Regions from separate parts of the Homo sapiens genome. Here all the other regions are linked to region 1. Evidence: promoter capture Hi-C in 16 types of primary human blood cells and fetal thymus (Javierre and others, 2016). All regions are on one chromosome and are shown on one strand. Each heading gives the region's core, a stretch centred on a gene start or on the middle of the fragment in contact. The rest is flanking DNA. Distances are from core to core; before and after follow the strand shown. Region 1 holds the start of GLIPR1L2 (GLIPR1 like 2). Region 2 overlaps NAP1L1 (nucleosome assembly protein 1 like 1). Region 3 has its middle 69 kb from the start of NAP1L1. Region 4 has its middle 17 kb from the start of PHLDA1-AS1. Region 5 has its middle 54 kb from the start of PHLDA1-AS1.

Evidence for each region. Contacts are between HindIII fragments. The CHiCAGO score rates a contact against its expected background, and 5 or more counts as called.
Region 2: a contact is called between a fragment that was not itself captured here and the fragment with the promoter of GLIPR1L2 in region 1, in 1 of 17 cell types (naive B cells). The highest score is 5.2, in naive B cells.
Region 3: a fragment that was not itself captured here is called in contact with the fragment with the promoter of GLIPR1L2 in region 1 in 1 of 17 cell types (monocytes); the score reaches 5.2 in monocytes.
Region 4: a fragment that was not itself captured here is called in contact with the fragment with the promoter of GLIPR1L2 in region 1 in 1 of 17 cell types (naive CD8 T cells); the score reaches 5.8 in naive CD8 T cells.
Region 5: a fragment that was not itself captured here is called in contact with the fragment with the promoter of GLIPR1L2 in region 1 in 1 of 17 cell types (monocytes); the score reaches 5.1 in monocytes.

Annotation. Positions count from the first base shown.
Region 1 is chr12:75,389,401-75,394,548 of GRCh38, reverse strand. GLIPR1L2 (GLIPR1 like 2) reads right to left here and starts at 3,460. Exons shown (of 6, transcript NM_001270396.2): 1 at 3,199-3,460. The coding sequence starts at 3,432. It also overlaps a transcript of CAPS2 not described here. RefSeq lists an enhancer at 3,399-3,528 and a silencer at 3,486-3,658. The HindIII fragment of the contact is 6,589 bases long and covers 2,434-5,148 here.
Region 2 is chr12:76,060,961-76,066,291 of GRCh38, reverse strand. All of the region lies in intron 4 of NAP1L1 (nucleosome assembly protein 1 like 1), which reads left to right. Among named protein-coding and RNA genes, the nearest start is that of NAP1L1, 21 kb to the left of the region's middle. The HindIII fragment of the contact is 2,307 bases long and covers 1,904-4,210 here.
Region 3 is chr12:76,150,652-76,155,880 of GRCh38, reverse strand. No RefSeq gene overlaps it. Among named protein-coding and RNA genes, the nearest start is that of NAP1L1, 69 kb to the right of the region's middle. The HindIII fragment of the contact is 1,978 bases long and covers 1,875-3,852 here.
Region 4 is chr12:76,011,058-76,016,167 of GRCh38, reverse strand. No RefSeq gene overlaps it. Among named protein-coding and RNA genes, the nearest start is that of PHLDA1-AS1, 17 kb to the left of the region's middle. The HindIII fragment of the contact is 2,095 bases long and covers 1,877-3,971 here.
Region 5 is chr12:75,973,819-75,979,400 of GRCh38, reverse strand. No RefSeq gene overlaps it. Among named protein-coding and RNA genes, the nearest start is that of PHLDA1-AS1, 54 kb to the left of the region's middle. RefSeq lists enhancers at 1,150-1,199, 1,209-1,353, 1,230-1,399, 728-1,927 and a cis regulatory region at 1,275-1,288. The HindIII fragment of the contact is 3,115 bases long and covers 1,295-4,409 here.

The sequences.
Region 1 (5,148 bases), core at 2,211-4,710:
ATATATGGTCAAACGATTTTTAACAAGGGTGGAAAGACCATTTTATGGGGAAAATAACAATCTTTCCAGCAAATGAAGTTAGGAAAACTGGATATCCACATGCAAAAGAATAAGCTGGACCCTTACCTTACACAATATACAAAACTTAACTCAAAGACCTAAAACTATAAAACCTTTAAAAAGCACAGGGGAAAAGCTTCATGATATTGAATTTGGCAATGACTTCTTGGATACGACAAAAAATACATACAATAACAACAAAAAATGATAAATTATACTTCATTGACGTTAAAAACTTTTGTTTATCAAAGGATATTATCAATAGAGTGCAAAGGCAACTTACAAAACGGGAGAAAATACTTTCAAATCATATATCTGAAAAAGATTAATATCCAGAATCTATAAAAATTCCTATAATTCAACAACAAAAAATCTAACAAGTTGGCCAAAAAATGTGCAAACGACTTGAATAGATAGTTCTTCAAAGAAGAGAAAATCTTGGTCAAGAAGCAAATAAAAAGATGCTCAATATCAGTAATCATTAGGGAAATGCAGATAAAAAATACAGTGAGGTATCACTTCATAACTGCTAGATGGTTATCATTAAGAAAAAAAGAGGAATAAGGAAAATAAAACAGAAAATAACAAGTGTTATCAAGGATGTGGAGAAATTGAACCCTTGAACATTCTTGGTGGGAATGTAAAATGGTGCAGCCACTATGGAAAACAGAATGGGGGTTCTTTGAAAAATTAAACAGAATTATCATATGATACAGCAATTCCAGTTCTGGGTATATACCCAAAAACAGCAAAATCAGGAACTGGAGCAGATAAATGTACACCCATGTCTATAGCAGTATTATTCACAACAGCCAAATAATGGAAGCAATCTAAATATCCACTGACCAATGAATGGATAAACAAAATGTGGTATATGCATACAGTAGAATATTATTCAGCTGTAAAAAGACAGGTAATTCTGACACATGCTACAACATGGGTGAACTTTATAGACATTATACCAAATGAAATAAGCTAGTAACAAAGACAAATATTATATGATTCCACTTATATTTGGTACCTTAAGAAGTCAAATTAATAGGAATAGAAAGTAGAATGGTGATAGAGGCCTGGGAGGAGGGGAGATGGAGAGTAAAGTAATTATTTGATGGGTATGGAGTCTCAGTTCAGGAAGACGAAAAAATTTTGGAGATAGGTGGTGGTAATGGGTGCACAACAATGCAAATGTACTTAATGCCACTGAACTATACACTTAAAAATGGTTAAAATGGTAAATGTTATGTCCTGTATATTGTAATACAATTTTTTAAAAACAACAATTTTTTTGGTATTTAAAAGCAAGGTAGAACAAAAGTACTACACGGCAATAGCATGAATAAGGATGGAAAGTATTCAGAATTTGTGTTCTAAGATCTTATTAATATTTGGGTGGAGTTTACAGGTATTAACTTTTGGAATTTATAAAAAGTACATACATTAAAATACTAAAAATAACCAATAAAAGAGTTTAAATAAGCTGAGTGATGTCCAAATCTGCTAAAGAAACATTTTAAATAGGCCATACTATTATGATAGACTATACTATTTACAGTTAATATTTATGTCCTAATAAAATACATGGGAAAAATATACATTAACTTCAAGAAAGAAGAAAAAGGTAAAAATTTAGGGTGGGACTTTAACCTATATATCAAATACTATTCCTTTAAAAATGTCTATATTTAAAAATATCGATTGTGGGTATACAGGTATATTATTTTATATACCTTATGTTTGAAATACTATATAATTTTTAGAGATGAGATAGAAAACCTATGAAAAGTTGTATTAGAAAGTATTATGTGTTTATTAATTTTCAGGAGTAAGGATAATCTTCAAATTGGGAAGAAACAGAATTAGTCACAAAAAATGGGAAATTAGTTGAAACTCCCAAATATCCCCAAACTCTATAATTGAATTCAAAAGAAAAAGAATTGGCTTAGAAAAAAGTATCTTCAGCAGATAGAACCAAATGCTAGCATAGTTCTATAAGACAGCATATAATCTGACATGGAAATGCTGACAATATAAAAGGTAAAGGAAATGACGAAGAAAGAACTCAAGTATGTCCTATCAAAATAGTATTTTAAAATCAACATTAAAACAAATGACCATTTTTGTAATTTATTCATTTAGCAAGTAATTGAACATGTCCAAATCAGTGAGGATGTGGTGAAAACAGAACAGCTGGTATTTGCTAAATTTGGCACTACCCTTTAGCATAGCAATTGCTATGTGTTAAATTAATAAAAAATATCATACCCTTAATTTATTTATCCCATTTCTGAAATTTGTGCTAAGAACTAATGCTGAAGGAAGAAAAGACATGTCTAGGAAAGTAGTCCTTGCAATATAATTTATAAGTTTGAAGCTTCTAATTCCCTAAGAGGACAGTTATTTATTTGCCGGATTTTCAGTCATTTTAATGACAGTCAGGAAAACTCAATAGCAACCAGGGAATAGTTGAGTTGTTAAATGACTATAGGGTGTAAAAGAGGGGGAAAGCAAGAACCGCATTGTAAGGTAAGGCAAAATCAGGGTCAAGACTAGGGTGAGGAAACTGAGACACTTCCTTAGGAGCCAAATTTGGAATGGGCACAAAAAAAAAAAATCAAGATAACAAACATTTTTAAAAGGCAAAGCTAATGTGACATCGATGATGGAAAAAGCTAAAAATAAAAATTTCAAATACAAACAGAATCTCATCTTGATTTGCACCACCCTGAGAGTGTCGCACTTGTTTTTCCCTAATCCAGACCCAAGGAACCTGTCTTTGTTAAATTTTTTAACATTTTCTTTACCCTTGATATTGATATTTTTGCACTGATTTTTAATTTTTAAAAACCCGTTGCATTAAAATATCATTTTCTTGAATTGGCGCCCCCTTAAAATCTGCACTTCAGGCCAGTGCCTCCATCACCTTAGTCCTGGCCCTGTGTAATATCATGGTAATAAGCATGTGTTAGAGTGTCCGCAGTTTTTCTCTGTGTAAACTTCACGTGTACTTTAAAAACCAAGCTAAAAGTGCGGTTCTCCGCGATCCTTCAGCCTCAGAGCAGTGGCCCCAACTACCCGAGATCCAGGGAGGCGTTGTGGCAACGGTAGTGGAAGGGTCGGCAAACCGCCTTCCGGCCTCACCATGAAGCGCAAGTTAGACCCTCGGGGAATGACGTCGCCCCGCAGCTCATTGTGGAGGTTCACGTACTCGTTGATAAAGTCTACGTCCTCCTCGTCTGGCAAAAATCTGGCGTTCAAACTAGAACCCAGTAGCAGTAGCCACAGCTCACAGAGCCGCAGCTTCAAAACGCCCCCTACTGCCAGGGGTAGGGACTGGGCCCTCCACTCCCGGGCGAAGGGCCTTGCGGCCTCCATGGTCCACCGGCCGCTGACAGGCCAGTGCGCACGCGCTGGCCGTCCCAGTGACCTGCCAATCTACGGAGGACGCAAGCAAGCCTTGTCCCGCCTCCCGGAAGGAGAAAGGGAGGAGGGAGGAGGGAAAAACAAAGGAGGGAGGAGGGGGTAAGGAGGAGGGAGGAGAGAAGAGGGAGGGGAGAGTGGGTAGGGGAGGGGGAGAGGAGGGGAAAGCTAGACCTGCAGAGTGAAGAAAGCTGGTAATAGATGTCTGACAAACTAAAGAAAGACTTGTGTTACGTGAGTAAGCCCTTTTCACTAAACTAATGTAGTGAAATGTTATCCCGAATTGATTTCTGACACTGAATGATATGTCGTTATTAATGAGTCATCAGTTTGTATGGTAAATGCCAATTGCTGAGTAACAGGTCTGAGGAACCTTCTAATTGTGCCAGGTGAAATGATTTTTCTGCGATACAGATACAAATTCAATTAAATTTTTTTTCCCCATTACCTGTTGAGTTGGAAATTTGGTGCAGGGCCTGCCTTTTATTTTCCTCAGGGACAGAATGGAATACAGAAATATTGCTAGTTCTTAAGGCCAAAGAAGTTCTTAAGGCCAACTTAATTGATGAGATTTTTTTCAGTTTTTAAATGAACCTTTGTGGGAAACCACAAAATAAATGGGAGTGAAGGGAGAGTAGGGATCACCAAACTCTTCAAAGGTTAAAACATTTCTACTTCTTCTCTCATCAGCACAATTCAGACAGCCCGGAATATCAAGATTCATCTTTTTCACTAATTGTGGCATTCACAGTAAGAACGAACTCTTTTGTTTTCTTTTTTTGTTCCAGACAAAATTGGCTAATATCTAGCTGATTTTGGTCTGATCTGTTTACCTCCAAACATTTTCCTCAAAAACAAAACAAAACAAAACCAACTTGCTTTGAAGACTTTAAATTCTAAGCATGGAAAAAAAGCAAGTATTAGTTTTGGAATACACGTTTGCATATTACATATTGTGCTTAATAGCATTAAGCAGATATGGAAAATTGACATTGGGAGAGAATTTTACTACAAAACATTGTAACAGGTTAGCCAAACATTTATAAAAAGAAAAGTGCTTTTAAAAATTGTCTGTGATGCACACAATTGAAAAACAATAGACCTATGTAAGATGGTTTCATTTATGCCCTTGAATACTTACTACTATGACTGCATAGTAGTAAGTTTTAAGTGATTGAGAAAGATCAGTAGACAAGACACAGATCCAGCTTTCAAGCAGCTTACAATTTAGTGAATTAGCAATCAGGCAGTATTTAAAACGTGATAAATACAAAGCCAAAATTCTATTGCTTGGTACTCTTGTGGAGGAGCAGGGAAGCCTTTCTGGAAATTGTATACAGAAAGTGAAACAGACAAGTCTAAGATAGCATTCTAAACAAAGGGAAAAGCATGTAATGTGCCTAAGGAGAGGAAGATCCTAAACGCTAGAAGTATTTTAGTATGGCTAGAACCTATTTAAGGGTGAAGGTGGCAAGTGCTGAAAGATGCAATTCTTTTATTATGGTGGTACTGTTGTTAGACTGCAAAAAATGCTAAAGAAAAAGTATAAATAGAATAATGCAATCTTAGATTTGGAAGAAATTTTAGCCACTATTGCTAGCCTCCTGTGTTAGGTATACTCTCCGGAACATCACTGACAGGTGATCATCACATCCTTTTCTTAAATAATTA
Region 2 (5,331 bases), core at 1,808-4,307, 670 kb before region 1:
TGGTTTCTGCTACATTTCGTATTGAATAGTTTCACCTTTTACATTTAGGTCTTAAATCCCTTTAGAGTCTACCTTTGTATTAGTTGTACGTAGGCTTCCAGTTCCTTTTTTTTCTGCCTCATTTTTTGAGCCAGGTTTGTTTGTTTGTTTGTTTATTTATTTATTTATTTATTTATTTATTTATTTATTTATTTTGGGTCCTCCTCCAGTGACATGAGCTAGTTTTTTTTTTTTTTTTAAACACTATTCACTAATCAATCCATTGTTCCCCCATTTAGGTGTACCACCTACCTTCATTGCATATCAAGTTGTAAACACCCGTGTTTGTCTTTGAGCAGCACTCTTATGTTTTATTGGTCTTTGTCTCTTGTCATTGTCATACTTAATTACTATGACTTTATAGTTGTCTTAATATTTGGCAGGGCAGGTTGCATCCTTTCATACTTCTCCCCCAATCATCCACATTTTTGACAGTTAAGTTTACCAGGGTTGTCAACAAGCAAAAAAACCTTAAAACGTTGATAGGAATTATATTGCATTTGTAGATTTACAGAATTATATCTTTTAATATTGTCTCATCCACATACTTCTAATTATTCAGGTCACATTCTGTGTCTTTAGTTTCAAAGTTATCCTCATAGAGTCTATTGGTTAAGTTAATTTCTGTATATTTTGTGTGGCTGTTGTGAATAGCATCTTTTTTGTATTTTCTGTTTGGCTGTTCTTGATTTACAGAGGATTGCTGTTTTTTTTTTTTTTAAGTTGCTCTTGTATCCAGTAACTTTGCTAAATTTATTGTAGTAATGTGTTCTGTTTTGCCCCCCAGTCACAAGATTTTATCTGCAAATAATGGCAGTTTTAGCTCTGTTCTTCCACATTACATTATACCACATACTTTTCTTTACAACATTACCAGGACTTTCACTACTGTGTTAAACATTAGTATTCTTTGTCTTATTTCTATTCATACTGGGAATGAATATAAAATCTCCATTAAATTCAGTGCCTATTTACTGTTTTTTAATCTGACCTTTGGTTTTTTTTTTTAACTGTATCAATTAAGATGCTCTATTGAACTTTTCCCTTCAGTATATTAAGTAAATAGTAAATACATGTTTTGGAAATACTTATTTTGGATATCAAACTAGCCTTGCATTCCTGTAGTAAATTGAATCATGATGTGTTATTGTTACATTGTTGAGTAATTGAATTTTACAGTTCTTACTTGTTAGTGAAATGAGCTTGTGTTGTGTGCATGCATGTATGTATGTGCATAAAGAAAGTTTCAGGAAGTGGTAATATTTAACTGGTTTTTGGAGTCAAGATTTCAATTGCCTAAGGAATGGAGCAGCTTTTAAAATTTTTCGTTTCCTGAAACAACTTGCATAAGATAGCAATTAGCAGTTCTTAGGGTAGAACTCTTCTAAAAATTTACTTTGGGACTTTGGAGTTGGGGAAGTAGAGGTCCAGGGGAGTTTTGGAGAATTTTTTTTTTTTTAAACATACTAATTTATTCAAGTTCTCTCATCAGTTTTGGAGTTTCATATTTTAAACATGTACATATTTAGGTTTAAAATTGATTAGTACATAGTTTACAATAGTTTTAAAAATCTGGTTTTCATATTCTGTATTTTGCATCTTAATTCTGCTGGTTGTCTTGATCTTATTAAGTTTTTAGAATATTAATTTTGCTTTTGGTTTTCCTTTTCCATACTGTCTTTTGTTACTGCTGCTGTTATCTCTTTTTTAGGATTGCTCTATGTTATTCTTTCCAGTTTTTTAAATTGAATGCTTAATTCATTTGATTTTTATTTTTTAATTTGTGTTTTTTATGGCCTTAATACTCTTACTTTTGTAAATGTTGAGTGTGAAGATCTGTATGCTGAAATTAATAGCTCAAGCTTATTGTATTGTTCAGCTTCTCTTTATTTCTGCTTATTGGTTGTCTGTTTGACCTGACAGTTTTTTCTGTCATTTGTAGATTGAAATATTTTGGAGCCATATTAGGTGTATGATATTTGTGATGAACATTTCTTGTTCTCTTGTTTCATTTTACTGATATGTGTCTTCCTTTGTGTTTTATAATGTTTTTTGGGGGGGTCATAATTTTTATTTGTCTGATATTACAATAATAACCCCCAGCTTTTATGACAAGGCCTTACTCTGTGATCCACTCTGGAGTACAGTGGCACACTCATGGCTCACTGTGATCCTCCCACCTCAGCCTCCCAAGTAGCTGGGAGCCACAGGTACATATCATCATGCCTGGCTGTTATTTTTGTAGAGATGGGGGTCTCCCTATGTTGCCCAGACTGGTCTCGAACTGTTGGGCCCACCTTGGTCTTCCAAAGCGCTGGGAATACAGGCATAAGCCATCACCCCCAGCCTCTTTTTTTTTTTTTTTTTTTTTAAACTTTTAACCTAGTATGTCTTTTTTTTCCATCTTTTCATCTGTGTGTCTTCCTCTAGTATCAGTGTTTGCTGCTTTTATTTTTTGGATACAGTGTCTCGCTTTGTCATCCAGGCTGGAGTGCCATGGCACAATGACGGCTCACTGCAGCCTCATCCTTCGGCTCAAGTGATTCTCCTGCCTCAGCCTCCCAAGTAGCTGGGACTATAGGCATGCACAACCATGCCTGGCTAATTTTTGTATTTTTGTAGAGATGGGGTTTTGCCATGTTGCCTGGGCTAGTCTCGAACTCCCGAGTTAAAGTGATTCACCTGCCTGGGCTCCCCAGAGTGCTGGGATTACAGGCATGAGCCACCACACTCGGCCTCAATGTTTGCTTCTTTATTATTAGTTGCATTTCTTAGAAGTTGTATTGTTTTTGGATTTATTGCTGCCATCTTTCTCTATTTTTTAATTTATTTTACTTTGGGTCTTTCTTCCTTCTTTTCTGCTTCCCATTGGATAGATCAAGTCGCCTTCTGGTTCCAAAGTTAATGGCATTGATTTTTGTTACTATGGTAGTGGCTTATAACCTAATATCTAAGTTTATTTACCCCTGTTGATTTCTTAAATTTACCAATATTTATATTGTTCATAAATGTGCTTTCTCTGGCCCTCTATTTTTCCCTTCAAGGAAAGAAATTTACCAAGATATTTGACCACACCCATACCTTAAATAGAATCTGCTGGATTTTTAAAAAATTTTCCTCAAAAGTTGCTTTTAGTAATATATAGTGAGTATCTGTGGCAAACCTGAAGCCTGGTATACCTGATATAATTTTTGTCCTGCTTTTATATCTGAATAATAGTTTGGTTATGAAATAGTAAATTCAGAGTTCTTAAAAACTACAATTTATTTTTTTCTTTATTTCAGTGTTTCTTTTAATGCCTGTTGTTAGTCTGATTCCTTTTTCTTTGTAGGTTATTCTTTCTCACTGGACACCTTTAGAATTTTCTTTTGTCTGTGATATTCATAAATCTCATTAACATGTCTAGGAAGCAGAGTAAGGATTTTTATATTGCTTTAATGCTGAGAAATGTATCATTCTCATATGTGAAGAGATCGTACCCCTTCTCTGTCAGCTATTGCTACTTTTGTCGTCCATATCTCAGAGCTTTTCTATTTTCCATCTGTCTTTCATGCTGCCTTCTGGTAGAACTTTTCAACATCATGGACTTTATCTTCAGTCGAATCTATCCTGTTTCTCTTATTTGTTGCCTATTTTAGTTATTGTATTTTTCATACTTAACATTCCCAGTCTGTTGTAGATTTCTTGGTCTTGTTGCATGTCAATCTTCCTCATCTCTAAGTATATTTACATTCTTGTTTAAATTCTCTAATTATGCTGCTTCAGATGATAATCATTTCATTCACTCTTTCATAGAAATTGTACCCTTGAAGTTTCTAGTTATTCTCTGAGCTCCAGCACATTAGGCAATACCAGTTACCCTAATAATGAATATTTGGGGAGAAATGAAGGTCTGTGACAAGGAGAAGGGCGCAGGGTGAGCCTAAGTAGTAGAGCACTAGTTGCCTTACACTGAAAGTTTGCTGCCAGTCCAGGCAATTTTTATGGTGTGCTTTGTAGGGTGGGGGACTAGTCTCCTTTGGTTGTCAATTCATCATTCCTAGATTGGATCAAATACATGTTTGAAGGCTTTGAACCGTGCAGCTTTCATCAACCCTCGCATTGGGCTCTTGTGAAGGGTGAAGATGACAGACAACGATTGTTGCAAGGCAGGAGCAGAACTTAAAAAGCTTTCTTGCGGAACTGCTATCTTCCAGTTTGTCCGCACTGCTACCTGCTGTGGCCATTCCCTCCCTAAGTTGTTGGTTACCCTGTACAGTTAAACACAACCTCCAGTCTTACCTGAAATTGCTTATGGTGTGTGTGTGCCTCAGTAGTTACTTCATTCTTGTTCTAAAGTTTCTGGGATTAGCTTTTTGGGGGAGCAAGAAAAGCCAGAAGCCCATGCCAGTTCACCACCTTGGCAGAATAGTGCTTTTCACTTAAAATTAACAGAAATAGAAAGTTGATATCTTCAAGTGTTTGTTTTTTATTTCTAATAATCTTAAGTAAACTGGTGGCTAAGTAAGTGAATTATTTGATTTACAAAAGTTTGTGGCAGGAAAGTTTAACCTGGATTTTGTATCTGTTGCACAGATTCCCTGAAGTTATTTAAATTTTAAGTGTGAACATTTATTGTTAGAGAGGTTTAATCATTCTTTAGGAGACTCATAACCTAGTGTGTATAACCTTTTAAAAATCAGTGCCCCCTGTTCACATTAGCAGACATGGAATCAACCTAAATGCCCATCAGTGACAGATCTGATACAGAAAATGTATACACCACGTAATACTTGCAGCCATACAAAGAACGAGATCATGTCTTTTGTGGGAACGTGGACGGAGCTAGAGGCTATTATCCTTAACAAACTAACACATGAACAGAGAACCAAATATCGTACATTCTTACTTACCAGTAGGAGCTAAATGATGAGAACTCATGAACACAAAGAAGGAAACAACAGACACTGGGGTTACTTGAGGGTGGAGTGTGGGAGGAGGGAGAGGAGCAGAAAATTAAGTATTGGGTACTGGGCTTAATACTTGGGTGATAAAATAATCTGTATAGCAAACCTTCACATACACCCCTAAACCTAAAATAAAATTTTAACAAAATAGTGCTTCACAGTTCATTGTATGGTGTATGAACTTTATCTCATCAAAGCTGTTATTTATTTTTGAGACAGGGTCTCATTCTGTCAGCCAGGCTGGAGTGCAGTGGTGGTGCAATCTTGCTCAATTCAGCCTCGACATCCCAGGCTCAGGTGATGCTCTCATCTTAGCCTTCCAAGTGGCTGGGACCACAGGCATGCA
Region 3 (5,229 bases), core at 1,614-4,113, 760 kb before region 1:
GCGTGATCTCTAGTCACTGAAACCTCCACATCCCGGGTTCATGTGATTCTCCTGCCTCAGCCTCCCGAGAAGCTGGGATTACAAGCATGTGCCACCACGCCCAGCTAATTTTTGTATTTTTAGTAGAGATGGGGTTTCGCTATGTTGACCAGGCTGCTCTCAATCTCCTGACCTCAGGTGATCCACCCACCTTGGTCTCCCAAAGTGCTGGGATTACAGGAGTGAGCCACCATGCCTTGTCCTGGGCCTAACTTTTTGGTCTTGCTTTTCCACTTGGAATCAATAGTGGCCAAGGCCCCTTTATAAGCTTAGGGCACTGAACCACATTACTATAAATTCCCTCTCAATGTTTATGTTTTAACAGTTATTTCCTTTCTCCTAGGCTTTTCCAAAATGTGAGGCATATGGAAAATTCAGGCAACACCCTGTTACTTATTCATCACTTAAGCCATGTTTTGGCTCAGAAGATACCAAGCAAAGCTGAATATTACTGTATTTCAGAAAGGGGAGTATTTCTTCAGTGCTCATCTTGGGGGTCTTCATAAAAAATGATTGACAGCTGACAGCTAATGTCTATTTTCACTTCATTGCCTTATGGGAAGAGATAACCATGAGCAGGCCATTTGGGAAAGTGAGGAATATTATCTAAGAATCATGATCCACAGAACCTGTTCACGGGTGAGGAGAAAGGGACGAGGTAGGGGGAAAACATCCCTAGCACAACCAGATTCTCCCCCATTATAAACGAGGAAAGTAAAAAACAGGGTCATGCTGCATTAATGTCTAGGTTTATTAGACTTACTACTTTTCTGGGCACAGTGGTAGACTTACTACCTTTCTGTAGTCCCAGTGATTCAGGAGGGTGAGGCAGGAGGATTCCTTGAGGCCAGGAGTTTGAGATTAGCCTGGGCAACATAGACCCTGTCTCAGAAAAATCAAAAAGAATTACTACCTTCCTCACACTGAAGGATTCTCAAACATTATTACATGGAGAATGAGCTCTCTTTGTGACCGTTCTCTAGAGGTTTTGACTCACTACTCTCTGTCTCTCACCCAGGGATTGAGTCTCAGCTAAATCCCTTTTCCATCAGTCACCAAAGATGCCCATTCACTAAATTATGCATACATGTTTTTTTGCCCAGCGAGGCCAGATCTATTTGCTCTTATAGAAAAATAAAGCATTTTTGCTGTTTTCCTTTTGTTTCTGCAAGCTTTTAGTCCATGGTGACATCATGGAAGCTTAAAACTTGAGAAGCCTACTCTCACAGCCCATGGACAGCCTTTCCTCACCCCAACCCCATCTATAATCACCACACTTTGGTCCAACTGCAACTGCTCTGTGTGGCATCAAGTTCTACAGGTAATCTGAAACTAAAATCATGAAAGAAAAGTAGGATTTGTGTTGTCGAATGGGATTTTTTTTTTTCGACTTGCCTGATTTGCAACTCAATCAGCAGGTAAGGCTAAAATAAAATATACAATCCAGGCCAGGCGTGGTGGTGCATGCCTGCAATCCCAGCACTTTGGGAGGCTGAGGCGGGTGAATCACTTGAGGTCAGGAGTTTGAGACCAGCCTGGCCAATATGGTGAAGACCCGTCTCTACTAAAAATACAAAAATTAACTGGGCGCGGTGGTGAGTGCCTGTAATCCCAGTTACTTAGAAGGCTGAGGCAGGAGAATTGCTGGAACCTGGGAAGTGGAGGTTGCAGTGAGCCAAAATCACACCACTGCCCTCCAGCCTTGGTGACAGAGTGAGACTCAGTCTCAAAAAAAAAAGTGCATATATATATATATATATAAATTTATATATATATTATATATATACACACACACAATGGCGGATGCTTTGTCTATATTTCTAAAATGTTAAGCTTCATACAAACTATGTACTGGTGGTGAATTGCAAAAATGACTATAATTTTTTCCCATCTCTGTAAGCATACCTCTTTAAAATGTGAATTTGAAGCTCCTCCCACCAAGAGGTAGATTCTATTTCACCATACCTTGCGTCTGGGCTTGGCTGTGTGACTTGATTTAGAAAATGAGACTAGCAAATAAGAAGCAAGCAGAGACTTGCACATTATGCCTTGTTCTCTTTTGCTGTGGTTAGAACCCTGAGATCTCCATGTGGAGGAGCCCAAACTGGCATGCTGAAAGATGAAAGGAGAAAGTATGAAGTGTCCCTGCCAGCCAGCTCCTAACCAACAACCTGCCAACGGCCGGACATGTGAGCAAGGCCATCCTAGACCATCCAGCTTCCAGTCAAATCTCCAGCTGACCACAGACAATATAAGCAAGCCCAGCAAAGAACAGGAAAGCAAACCTAGAGAAAAGCTACACAACCAGCCTGCAGAATTATGAGTGAAATAAGTACTTGCTGTTTTAACCAGCTAAATTTGTTATGCAGCAATAGCTAGCTGATATTGCACTCAGTAAATAATTATTAATTCAGATTTCTCAGAATGAGTATGAAAATGAAAAAGTAATTATGTATATTTAGAACAAAGCAAAGAGAAATCTGCTAAATAGAATAGAAACTGGCAGACATAAGGCTGATTTTTCTTCTTGAATTAAAATAAATAAATAAATAAATGAAGCAATAGAGGCCAGGTGCAGTGGCTCATGCCTGTAATCCCAGCACTTTGGGAGGCCAAGGCGGGCACATCACCTGAGGTCGGGAGTTGGAGACCAGCCTGACCAACATGGAGAAACCCCATCTCTAATGAAAATATACAATTAGCCGGGCATGGTGGTGCATGCCTGTAATCCTAGCTACTCGGGAGGCTGAGGCAGGAGAATTGCTTGAACCCGGGAGGCGGAGGTTGAGGTGAGCCAAGACCATGCCATTGCACTCCAGCCTGGGCAACAAGAGGGAAACTCCGTCTAAAAAAAAAAAAAAACCAATAGAAACAAATTTGTAACTCAACTTTTATTTATTTATTTTTTGAGACAGGATCTCACTCTGCAGTGGTGTGAGCATGGCTCACTGCAGCTTCAACCTCCTGGGCTCAAGCAATCCTCCCACCTCAGCCTCCTGAGTAGCTAAGACTACAGGTAAGTGCCACCATGCTCAGCTAATTTTTTAATTTTTGTTGTTGTTGTTTCAGAGACAAGTTTTCACTATGTTGCCCAGGCTGGTCTCTAACTCCTGGACTCAAGCAATCCTCCCACCTCAGCCTCCCAAAGGGCTGGGATTACAGGCATGAGCCACCACACCTGGCCTGTAACTCAACTTTTGATTCACCTGCCACTCTGACCAGTTCTATGAATCTGCTGAGTTCATTCTGGGCCTCATTCAAAATAATACTGACTCCTTGCCGCATTGAAGTGTGGGGAGGACTAATAAACCTTTCTTTCTTGTTCAAAAAGAATCCTGGGATCCTTGAATGAGGTAGGAAAGACAGAGCATTATTGCTGACACAGAAGCACGTCAATGGTTTCTGCATTGATATGTAGCAACAGAGAAGCCTCTTTAGGAAAGGGATGGGCTGGTTCCGCAGCCAGGGATAGAAACTAGAGAAAGCAGTAGGTGGGTACAGGAAGTGCAGGGAGGCATATGAGTATGTGAATTTCAGACATGTTCCTATTTTTAGTGTTGGCTAGGCAGTATCTGTATTTTTGTCTGTTCAAACAGCATACCTTCTCAGGAAGGAGGATAAAAACATCGGTATATATAGGGAAGATAAAAACATAGGTTTAGCATTTGCAGCACAAATTGCAAACTTTTTAAAGATTTAACTTTTCCAGCAGCTTGTCTGCTAATACTTAATAGCCAAAGTATAGAATATAATAGTTTTGCTGAGACTAAAATATTTTACTGATTTGAAAAGACTTTCAAAGTCAGAAAAGCTTATAAAATAAATAAAATCTGTTTGTACATTTTAATAACTCAAGACTATGGTTTTTAGGGAAAAAAATTACTTTTTTCACCCAAAATCAAATTTCAGTGTTAAATGTCCCTCTATACAGTCTGCACCAATAAGTCCCAAACTCTGATTACTAGCGTTCCTAAGGCACTTTTCAAAAATTTCTCTAGCGACCTCAGCCTCACTTATGGATATTCTGACCAAGTGGAACATAGGACTCTATTTTCTTTCTTCCTTTTTTTCTTTTCTTTTTTTTTTTTGAGACAGAGTTTCGCTCTTGTTGCCCAAGCTGGAGTGCAGTGGTGCAATCTCGGCTCACTGCAACCTCCAACCTCCCTCTGCCTCCCAGGTTCAAGCGATTCTCCTGCCTCAGCCTCCTGAGTAGCTGGGATTATAGGTGCCCGCCACCATGCCTGGCTAATTTTTTTTTTTTTAATTTTAATAGAGACAGGGTTTCACCATATTGGTCAGGCTGGTTTCGAACACCTGCCTCGGCCTCCCAAAGTGCTAGGATTACAGGGGTGTGCCACCGCACCCATCCAGGTCTCTATTTTCAAAAAGGTGACTCTGTTGATGAGCCAATTTTGGAAATCATTATCAGTAAAACGCTGTCCATGAACATAATTAATCTGATTGTCTTTTCTGTAGTCATAATAGAGATTCATTTCAAAACATTTCTTTTTTACAACCTTACACAAATGCCTACTCACTGTTAGCAACTGGACTATTTCTGAAACAAATATAGCAGTCTTTGATGAAAAATAAAAATGAGTACCTGTTGCAGAAGGAGTTATTTGGAGCAAGTACCTTTCTGGTGAATACTTGTACCAGACACATTCATTTGAGTGCACACATGTAGGTCAATTCCTAAGTGTAAATCTAACTACTAGGGGTGTCCAATCACCATTAGCATTGAGCTCCCAGCCTCTGACCCCCATCCAGCTCCTCTCCTTAGGAAAGGGGAGGGACTCTAACAGATTGATGAGCTTTGAAGAGGACACTGGCCATGTGGAGCCCCACTCCTTCCTTGCTGCTGCTTCTAGAAAGTTTCTGGCTGAAGCACATGCTCATTGTTCCTCTGTGCTCCCTGTTATTGTCTGGCCAGTGTGCCTCATCGTGCCAATATGTTTCTTGTTGGAATTCGGTATTATAAAACCACTTCCCTGCAGATAGCCACATTTTTCTTTATCAGATTTAGGAACCCTAATGGAGCTACTTCAGCCTCTACAGGAGGTAGGCAAGGGAAGAGTGTGGGTATGGGGCTCTCCTCAAATATACCAACATATCCCTGTGAAATTATTATTATTATTATTTGAGGTGGAGTCTCACTCTGTCACCCAGGCTGGAGTGCAGCAGCACAGT
Region 4 (5,110 bases), core at 1,675-4,174, 620 kb before region 1:
GCCGTTAACAAGTTGTGTGACCCTGAGCACATGATTTTGCGTCTCTGGACTTTAGTTTCTTTGTCTTTAGAGTAAAGATATTCTTCAATTGCCCTGTTTCAGTTGTAATAGTTTACAAGTAGTGATTTCTGTACTCATTTGCCTTTCTTTGGAAAGACTACAACTTTGAATTTGAAGGACCTGGATATGACTCAGTGCTGACTCTCTTAAGCTGTGTAACTTTGCACAAGTCACCTAACATTTTTGAATCTTAGTTTTCTTACCTGTAAAATAGGTATAATAAATCCTGTCTCATGGAGCTAGTGTGACGATTAAAATAATGAGATGTGAGAGAACTTTGTCTCCATTCAGACAAAACATCTAGAAAGTGCTTGTCTCCACTGTCTGCTAAAGAGCATCCCCATTTCATGACCCTTCCTTCCTTCTTTCCTTCCTTCCTTCTTTCCTTCCTTCCTTCTTTCCTTCCTTCCTTCCTCCTTCCCTTCCCTTTTCTTTCTTTCTTTCTTTCTTTCTTTCTTTCTTTCTTTCTTTCTTTCTTTCTTTCTTTCTTTCTTTCTTTCTTTCTTCCTGTCTCTTTCTTTCTCTCTCTCTCTCTCTCTTTCTTTCTTTCTTCCTTTCTCTTTCTTTCTTTCTCTCTCTCTCTCTCTCTCTCTCTCTCTCTCTTTCTTTCTTTCTTTCTTTCTTTCTTTCTTCTTCAGGTTCTTACTGGGGTACAGTGGCACGAACATGGCTCACTGCAACCTTGACTTCCTGGGCTCAAATGATTCTCCTGCCTCAGCCTCCCTAGTAGCTGGCACAACAGGCATGTACTAACATGCCCAGCTAATTGTTTAAATGTTTTGTAGAGATGGGGTCTATGTTACCTAGGCTATTCTCAAACTCTTGGGCTCAAGCAATCATCTTCCTTCGGCTATCCAAAGTGCTGGGATTACAGACATAAGACACCCTCACCCTGCTCTATTAATTTCTTTTTCTTTCTTTGTTTTTTTTTGTTTTGTTTTGTTTTTTGTTTTTTTTTTTGAGATGGAGTCTCGCTCTGTTGCCCAGGCTGGAGTGCAATGGCGTGATCTCGGCTCTCTGCAAGCTCCGCCTCCCGGGTTCAAGCAGTTCTCTGCTTCAGCCTCCCGAGTAGCTGGGAATACAGGTGCTTGCCAACATGCCCGGCTAATTTTTTAAATATTTTTAGTAGAGATGGGGTTTTACCATATTGGCCAGGCTGGTCTCGAGCTCCTGACCTCGTGATCCACCTGCCTCGGACTCCCAAAGTGGGGATTACAGGCGTGAGCCACTGCACCCAGCCTGCCCTTTTAATTTCAATCTCTTGGAGCCACATGCAGCAAACATCTTCATCAATTTACAAAAGCATCTGGTTTTACTCTGTGATTTTCCCCTTCCTTCCTATGGGAAAAAGAAGGAAACTATAAGACCTGCTATTTTATAGGATTTTGTTTTGGTTTTGGTTCTTTTGACACACAGTGTGTCTTCAACCCACCTGTATAATGAGAACTCCTTAGAATAATGAAGGGTGCTACATAATCAAAGTACGTGGTTGCTTGCTGAGGTCGGAACATATTCTAACTTGATCTAGAATTATTTTCTACACCATGACCTAAAAGTGAAAATGGATGGTTTTAAAAGACTTAATTTAGGCAGAAAATTTATTTAAGCCAAGTCCTCTATTACCTGCACACTCTAATGAGCAGTGTTTTACTTCAATTATGTAAACGGAGAGAATAACGATTGAGGAAATATAATAAAACTTGAACAATAATAGTTCCCATTTTCTAAGCATTTATTTTATGACAGGTCTTTTATCATAACAGTGCCTCGAGATAGGTATTGTTATCTCCCTTTTACTGATAAGAAAACAGAAGCTTACAGAAGTTGAGAAAGTTCCCAAGAGCAGAGGGCAATTATGCGGCAAAGCTGTGATTTGATACGGATCTGAGATACTCCAGAACCCCTATTCCTTTCAGGGCAGGAGGCTAACTCCCAACCCTTTAATGTAAGCAGGCCTGGGGGAGACCAAGGGCAGCCGGGCTCACCTTTCCTCATGAAAAGAGAGTGGCCGGGGAGAGGGCAGCTGTGATCTTCCAGCGATGAGTTTGGAGCCATAGGCCGGCTCAGGCGGCATCTCTCCCAGACCACCCTGCAAAACAGTCTGTGGGTTTTGAAGGCATCATTTTATTTGTGGAATGATGAGGTTATGAATTGAGGGGAAAAAACAGAAAGACTAGTTTGATTTAGCATTTATTCAAGAAAAACATATGACTTTATAAGGAGCGGGATGGAAGTCATGTCTCCCAACTGCAAACACTGCTGCCTGAGGAATTAATGAGAACATCTCATCATCCCAGAGGCCCCCCACAGTGCTAAGCCTGCACCCAGGGCCTTAGCTGAGGAAAAGCAAGAATCATGGTGAATGGGTAGGCTCAGTGGAGAGCTGTCCAGCTGATGGGATGAGGGCAAGCTCACCACATCTCGGCAGGAGGATGGACACGCAAGCTCTTCACCTAGCTCGCTTTCACCCAGCTCTTTACCCTCTTTACTTTAATTTGATTTTTTTAAATTAAATAATTTATCAAAGCCCCTTCTGGAGCTGTTGTTTCTCCCCTTTTAAAAAGAACTTTCTGGCTGGGTGTGGTGGCTCACACCTGTAATCCCAGCACTTTGGGAGGCCAAGGCAGGAGGATCACTCTCGCTCAAGAGTTTGAGGCCAGCATGGGCAACTCATCGCTATTTAAAACAAAAAACAAAAATAATAAACATTTAAAAATGAGCTTTTTGTTTTGTTTTGTTTTTAGACAAGATCTCACTCGTTGCTCAGGCTGGAGTGGTGCAGTGGCGCAATCATAGCTCACTGCAGCCTCAAACTCCTGGGCTCAAACCATTCTCCTACCTTAGCCTCTCAAGTAGCTGGAACTACCGGAGCAATGCCACCATGCCCAGCTAATGTTTTTAACTTTATGTTTTGTAAAGATGGGGTCTCACTATGTCGCCCAGAGTGGTCTCAAACTCCCGGGCTCAAGTGATCCTCCACCTCAGCCACCCAAAGTGTTGGGATTACATGTGTGAGCCACTGCGCCCTGCCAAAATGAGCATGTGAGGGTCTTTGTGGTGTTGTGGAAGGGCTGCAGCCCCTCCTGTCCTGGCTGTCTCATCTGACTGCTTGCACCCTGTGTGTGCTCTCTGGCTGCAATGATATCACCAGGAGACCCATCAAGTCGGCTTTCTGCAGCTCCTTGGGGATTACTGGGTTCAGGCCTAATCCTCAACGGCCCAGGCCCTAGGCATTTGGACAGGGCTACCACTCAGGCAGGAGAGATGCTGAGGCTCAGCGTGGGAGTGTGGAAGGGGCAGCTGACCATGACCCTTCTCCTCCCAGCTTTGAATCTCATTTTACTTCAGAGACTGCAGAGCCCTGAAGCAGAGCCGCCTCCCTCAGTCTGCAGAATCCAGGTTGCTCTTCAGGTAGGAGATGCACCTTTTTGTCCTAAGGGATTCCTCTTACCCCCTGTTTGAGGGGCTGGGGAATTTTTGAGTGTGTGTAGCGGGTGAGATGGCAGGTGGAGGTGGGGTATGTGTGGAAGACGCTTTCCCAGGAAGACCAGGTTCCTAAGGGATGTAGGAGTTATAGAGGGGGCAAAGATGCAAAAAGCAAGACAGACTTTGCCAGGGAAGCAGACCGGGGAGAGATTTTGAGTAAGATGCAAACTCCAAGTGTTACAAAGACACTAAAAGCAAATTGCCTGGAAGGGTGATGGCAAAGCTCTCACACTTACTTGGTGCTATCCATGCCTTCTAGAGGAGGTGATGGTGTTGCCCAGCAGTGAACATCTTTCTAAGAGCTCTGTTTCAGTACTTCCTCCCCTCCCTTCCTCCACCTTCTCCTTGGTCTGCCTGCAACCTCATCTCTTCCAGGCCCTTGCGTGGGACATCTGGACAATCTGCCTGTTATGTGGATAGAAGCTTTATCTTTGATTCCTGCCCAGGGTCTGTGTCTCCCCCTGCCCACACCACTTCACACTATCAGCCCTTGGTGCACGTCTGACCACCCGGCATGAGGTGCTCATGGGACTTTCCAGAAGGAGGCTTCTCTCATGGAATGCCTGGGGCTCAAGAGCACTAGAACTCCAGGAATGGGGCAGTTCCAATTTCCCTGGTGGCAAGTACAGTTGGAGCATGTGATGGCACATCACCAGCAAAGGAATGAACCTGGAGATGAAAATGGAGTTCAGTGGAGAGTCAGACTCACGGCTAAGAAAACACAGAGGCCTCGTGGGGAGCTCAGTAGGGGTAAGCACAGGAGGCAGGAAGAAGAAAAGATGGAGGCCTCATGGGGAGCTCAGTAGGGGTAAGCACAGGCGGCAGGAAGGGGAAAGGAGCTAACCTAGTCCTCACTGATAGCATAGTAAGAAATCGGAATGTCCCAGATCCCAGCCCCTGACCATGGAAATCACTGTGACTTGGGCAACAGTGACAATAGTATTTGGTTTGATCTCCCCACCCTCTCATTGTCGTCTCCTCATCTCCTTCCCCACAGGGTCTAGGCAGCTCATTGAATACCTGGTGTTAACCCTTAATGGACAAAGCTACTATCAACCATGGCTGCTGCTGTGGCCTCCATCGTAAGTGAGTCTGGCTTTTCCAGTTTACAGTGTCATCCCCTGAGGAACTTAGAAAGGCTTCCCTGGGCCTGGACCAGGTGCCATTTGAGACTCCATCGTGTGTGATATTTATTCACAAGTGTCCATCAGTTTGGATCCCTCTACGGGCCCTGTCCTTGGCTGCCTTTCCCTCAGGGTGGTTCCTGATAACCAATGTGTCTTCTTTCTTTCCTCCTCCTCTGCTCTTCCAGGATAGCAGGACAGCCTTGAGTCTCCTCTTAGCTCAGGAGTGCTAAGTCCAGTCTCCTGGGTGTCTGACTGTCAAGACCAAAGTCCGGTTGCTGCTTCTACTTGGAGGCTTGAAGATTCCTCAGACAGATAGAGAAACCCTAGTAGCCATTTCTCAGGGTTTCCAAAATAAGCGTACAGATTAGTACCCGACAGTGACATGTAATTTAAAAAGCAAGTAGCAAAATAATTCTTTATGAGTCACTTGTAAAGAC
Region 5 (5,582 bases), core at 1,603-4,102, 590 kb before region 1:
TACAGGGTGCAGGGCAATAAATGCTGCCTCTCTACTTGGAAATGACTAATCTCCTTTCTCTAAAGTAAAGTGATGTTGAAGTGGGTAAGAAGAGAGAAGATGAAGGTAGCCAGAGTGAGAAGTGGGATGGAAGGGACAGGGAAGTTTCTAAGATCAGCCCCAAATCTTCCTTCTTGAGCTGTGACCAGAACACCATCCAATATCCAATGTCTTCTATCAGCCTGAGTTATCAAGCACAGGAGAGAGCTCCGTATTAAACTGTGTGGCATACGAGTGCCTAATTCCCAGTCTTCTAACTAGTAAGGACAAGGTTTCCTTGCCAAGTTTATCCTGAGGGCAAAGGCCTGGGTGATGTTTTTTGAGGGATGGTATATTCTTTTTAAAAAAGGTATTTAGGAAGCTGTACTTTGTAGACCCATGTGAGAAGGGAAATTGCATTTAAAACTCACCTTGGGGTGAAGGGAAATGCCTTTGAACTCTGCAACTCAGTAGGTAGTCACTTATCCCCCTCATCATTGATGGGTGAGCAGACAAGCTGAGAGCAATCGCATCTCAGCGTACAGTCCTGATGCACTTGTATTCAGTAATGTAGGCAGTTTGAGGTTTGCCCTTCTGTCCTCGCTAGGTGTTTGCTTTCTACTCTGTACATGTTTTAGGATGAACTATAGTTATCTTCCAAATTAGCATTTTAAAGGCATTCTGATTTTGTTTAAAACAAATCACAACGTGAAGTATTGGACTATGGCTGTAGATAATTCTTCAGATTGTGTTAGTACTCCTGGACCAGTTATTGTGAACTCATGGCCTTTTCAAAATGCAGTCGTTGGCTTTCATCTTCTTAAATGTGACTCTATCAAATCCATTCCAACTCTCATACTGGCATTAGTTTGGCCTACTTCCTCTAACGCAAGCCAAGCAAATTCTCCAAATACCAAATATAAGATGGAGATTCAAAGGTCATTGTTTTCTTCCATGCCATTCCACTCCACTCCCACCCCCAGCCAGCAGGGTAAGGGTTCAGATTCCTGCTTAAAACAACAGGTCAGTGGGCACTGCCAAATCATCCTCAATGCCGTTTCAACTGCTAAGTTTTCTGTATCACAAAACCAATGTTTATCCTGTATTTGCAACCCCTGAGCTGCGTTCTCTTGCCCTGATTCTCTTGCTCTTCCCTGCCAGTGAATTTGCATCATTTCTGTGTGTGCTTTGTTTGACTGCCCTGACTCCAGTTCTGCTGAGACTGTCTGTGGGTGGTTTCCCTGTGCAGAGATGACAAGTGCAAAGGTCAGAAGCTTCCATGATTCATTTCCTCTTTGCTGCACGCAGTGGATGGTTTTCTGGGTGAGTCACTCAGATGCCAAACACAGGAGGGATTTTCTTCACATAGAGGCCCTGAGGCTCTGCTATGCCCTGAATTGGAGGAGGAACTGAGTTCTTAATATTTCCTGAAAAATTGTGTATTTTTTCCAATGATTTCATAAGCCCATTTGTATTCCCTTTCTTTGCATCTGATGACTCTGATTTGCGAATGCTGCGTACCCCTTGGAGAACATTTTGGTATCTTGTAGAGCTTCACTGAGTTCTGACTCAAGAGTAATTGGACTCTTTGAAATATACCCCAAAAGCCTGGATGCAGTAGCTCACACCTATAATCCCAGCGTTTTGGGAGGCCAGGCGGGAGGATTGCTTGAGGCCAGGAGTTTGAGACCAGCCTGGGCAACATAGTAAGACCCTGTCTCTCTCTAAAAAAAAAAAAAAAAAAATTACGTGTGTGTGTGTGTGTGTGTATTATGTTTGTGTGTATATATCTCAAGCATATTCCTGTATTAAAACATTCCCTGGTATGTTATCTATACAGGAGTATTAACAGCAGTCTACCTGTGGCTCTTCAAAAATCCACCCTCCTAGCCAGGCACAGCGGCTCATGCCTGTAATCCCAGCACTTTGTGAAGCCGAGGTGGGCAGATCACTTGAGGTTAGGAGTTCAAGACTAGCGTGGCCAGAGTGGTGAAACCCCATCTCTACTAGAAATACAAAAATTAGCCAGGCGTGGTGGCGGGCACTTGTAATCCCAGCTATTCGGGAGGCTGAGGCAGAGAATCTCTTGAATCCAGGAGGCAGAGATTGCAGTGAGTCGACATCGTGCCACTGGCCTCCAGCCTTGGGTGACAGAGTGAGACTCTGTCTTAAAAAAAAAAAAAAAAATACTACCCTCCTCTTCTTCTTCCAGAATAAAAATCTATGGGAGGAACAAGAACATCAACTGAGGATGATGGTAATGTTGCAATACCTAGGGCTGAAACCTACAGCAAAGTATTATTTTCTCAATGAAGAGAGGTTATTATTTTCTTTTTTTTAAACCTTTAAAAATTATGAAATAGAATATGCAAACAGAAGGCATAAGTGTATAGTACAATGAATAATTACAAAGTGAATACCCTCCATCAAGAAATGGAACATGGCCAGCCCAGACGTCCCTCCTTTGTTTACCTTCTAGACGTACCTCCCTTCTCCTGTCTTGAGGTATCCACTACCCTGATTTTTGTGGTAGTCATTTCCTTGCTTTTCTTACCACCTATGTATGCAAGGTTGTTATTTTGTAAAGCAGTATCAATTCCATCTTCTGCCGGTGGCACTATGTAATTCACTTGTATTAAGTAGCGACCACAGGATGACTTTGGGCTAGAGTGGTATATATCTATTCTCTCCCCACCCTAAAATTCCATAAAAATGCTTATCCATGTCTACTGTGTCATGAACTAATAATACTCCTGCTAAGACACATGTTTAAAGTAATGACAGTGAAGAGGTAAAATAAGCACGAAATTTTCAGTGGTCTGTCTCCTGTGCTCTGGGGTTCCTGAGCTGCAAATAGAGTTAAATGATCTGTGATGGGAATATAGAAATCCTCCCCGCCAACCCCCTGCCACCTCTTACTATCCCCTCTCTCTGATTTCCCTGGGAAATATCCCAGCAAGTTGTAAAATCTGCAGAACTTGGGCATGAAAAGGATCTATTTACAGGTCCTGAACTTTCCCCTTTTGGTTTCTTACTTTGAGAACATACAGGCTGTTTCAGCATATTTCTTTATCAGGGCAACTCACCCCAAAGATTATTTGATCTTCTTTAGTCTGACATGTTCTCTGCTGAGCTAGGAAAAGCAGCTGAGTGGAAATGGGACTTAAAATGTAATTCTTAACCATTTTTACTTCCTCGCCTTCCTTCTCTTCCTTGATTGGCTCAGGCAGGTTTGTAGAGGCAGAAAAGGAAATTAACGTTTATTACACCCCTATTTTGTGCCAGGCACTTTTGAGTCCATTATCTTATTAAATACAACACCAGGAGATACTTATTTTTTTTTGTTGGCTCCATTTTGTAATGGAGGCCACTGCATTTCAGAGCACTTAAGTAACTAAACATCATTATGTAGTTAGAAATGGCCATAATGAGGAACTAAACGGTCTAACTCCAAAGCCAAGTTCTCTTTCTTCTCTATCAAGCTGTCTCTTATTTCACTTGCCTGATGACCTTGGAGTGCCCTTGGCAACCACTTTTTAAAGGAGGGTCTATTTTTGTTAGGCAGAATGAAAAGTTATTGGGTTTATTAGCAGTAATGGGTTCAAGGTCTCAGAGTTTTCTTTTTTTTTTTTTGAGACAGGGTCTTGTTGTGTCACCCAGGTTGGAGTGCAGTAGCGCAATCACTGCTTACTATAGCTCCAACCTCTCGGCTCAAGTGATCCTCCTGCTTCAGCCTCCTGAGTAACTGGGATCACGCCCAGCTAATGTTTTTATAATTTTTAGTGGTGACGAGGTCTTGCTATGTGCCCAAGCTGGCCTGAAGCAATTGTCCCACCTCAGTCTCCCAAAATGCTGAGATTACAGGTATGAACCACCATGCTGGCCTCAGTTTTCTTCTTAAGAGCACTGGCTTAGGGCTGGGTGTGGGGTGTGGTGGCTCACACCTTTAATCCCAATGCTTTGGGAGGCCGAGGCAGGTGGATCATTTGAGGTCAGGAGTTCAAGTCCAGCCTGGCCAACATGGTGAAACCCTGTCTCTACTAAAAATACAAAAATCAGCTGGGCCTGGTGTTGCACACCTGTAATCCCAGCTACTCGGGTGGTTGAGACAGTAGAATCACTTGAACCTGGAAGGTGGAGGTTGCAGTGAGCCAAGATCATGCCACTGCACTTCAGCTTGGGCAACAGGGGGAAAAAAAAGCACTGGCTTAGGCTTCGGAGCCACCAGGATGAAAGGCTTCAGGTTATGGTAGTTTCATAAGGGATGGAGGAGGACCGTCAATCTTTGAAGCTCATGTTTGATCCAAGGCCACTTTCTGTGTTTCCTTACATCACAGGTCTGGCTGCCTCTGTGATCTGGTGCCCATAGTCTGTAGGAGACATTATAAGCTTACTGTAAGAAAGCCTAATTAGAAAACAAAGACAGCATGGAGGGGATTACCCTGGAAACATTCCTTGTGCTATAATGCTATTCACTGTGGAGTACAATTTGGTGAAATGCCCACCCCTCTTGCACCTTATCCAGGGAATGTTACTAAAGCAGCACAAGTACTTTGTTTTGTGTTGGTCTTTTGTGTAAGGCAGCTCTCCAGTGTGGTTCCTGTAGCCAGTGTTTCCCCAGAAGAGAGCATGTTAAATGCTTACGGGAAACAGTTTGGTCAGTTGAGGAGCAGGTGTCGGGAAAACAAATGAGGCAGGAATTTAATTTTGGAGTATGTCTGGAGGTGGTATTTACAGAGCACATGGAAGTTATTTTTGGAGGTGCTTATGAATTGTTTAAGTCCATGTCCTTAACTTTAGGAGGAAGTAACATCTGTGTCACACTAAATGTGGAACCTGAATGAGGCTCATAGCCTGTGGCAGAGGCCAGGACCTTGGGCCAGCAGTTTTTGCTCACCATGTGAGGTTGAGTGTCAGTGTTAAAGGGCATTTTTTCAGAGGGGGAAGTTGGAGAGGGAGTAGTGGGTAGCAGCTCCTACTTCAACCATCTCCAGGATTCTGCCCTTTTAATCTGTGAGACATGAGGAACGATTTTTCATCTTCTCCCCAACACAGGCACTACTCCACAACTCCATTGCAGTGATCATATTATTGTTATCCTCTTATGATATACTTCTCTCTTTTGTAATATCTATGGCCATTCATTTGTTCATTCTTGATTCATTTGTTTAATCAAAAAATATTTTTTGGGCCGGGTGCGGTGGCTCATGCCTGTAATCCCAGTACTTTGGGAGGCCGAGGCGGGTGGATCACGAGGTCAGGAGATCGAGACCATCCTGGCTAACACGGTGAAACCCTGTCTCTACTAAAAATACAAAAAATTAGCCAGGCGTGGTGGTGGGTGCCTGTAGTGCCAGCTACTTGGGAGGCTGAGGCAGGAGAATGGCGTGAACCCGGGAGGCAGAGATTGCAGTGAGCAGAGATCGCACCACTGCACTCCAGCCTGGGCGACAGAGCGAGACTCCGTCTCAAAAAAAAAAAAAAAAAAAAAAAATTTGATCTCATAGTAAATGCTAGGCAGTGTCTTAGACCCTGGTGATACATAACGATACAGACGAACATCA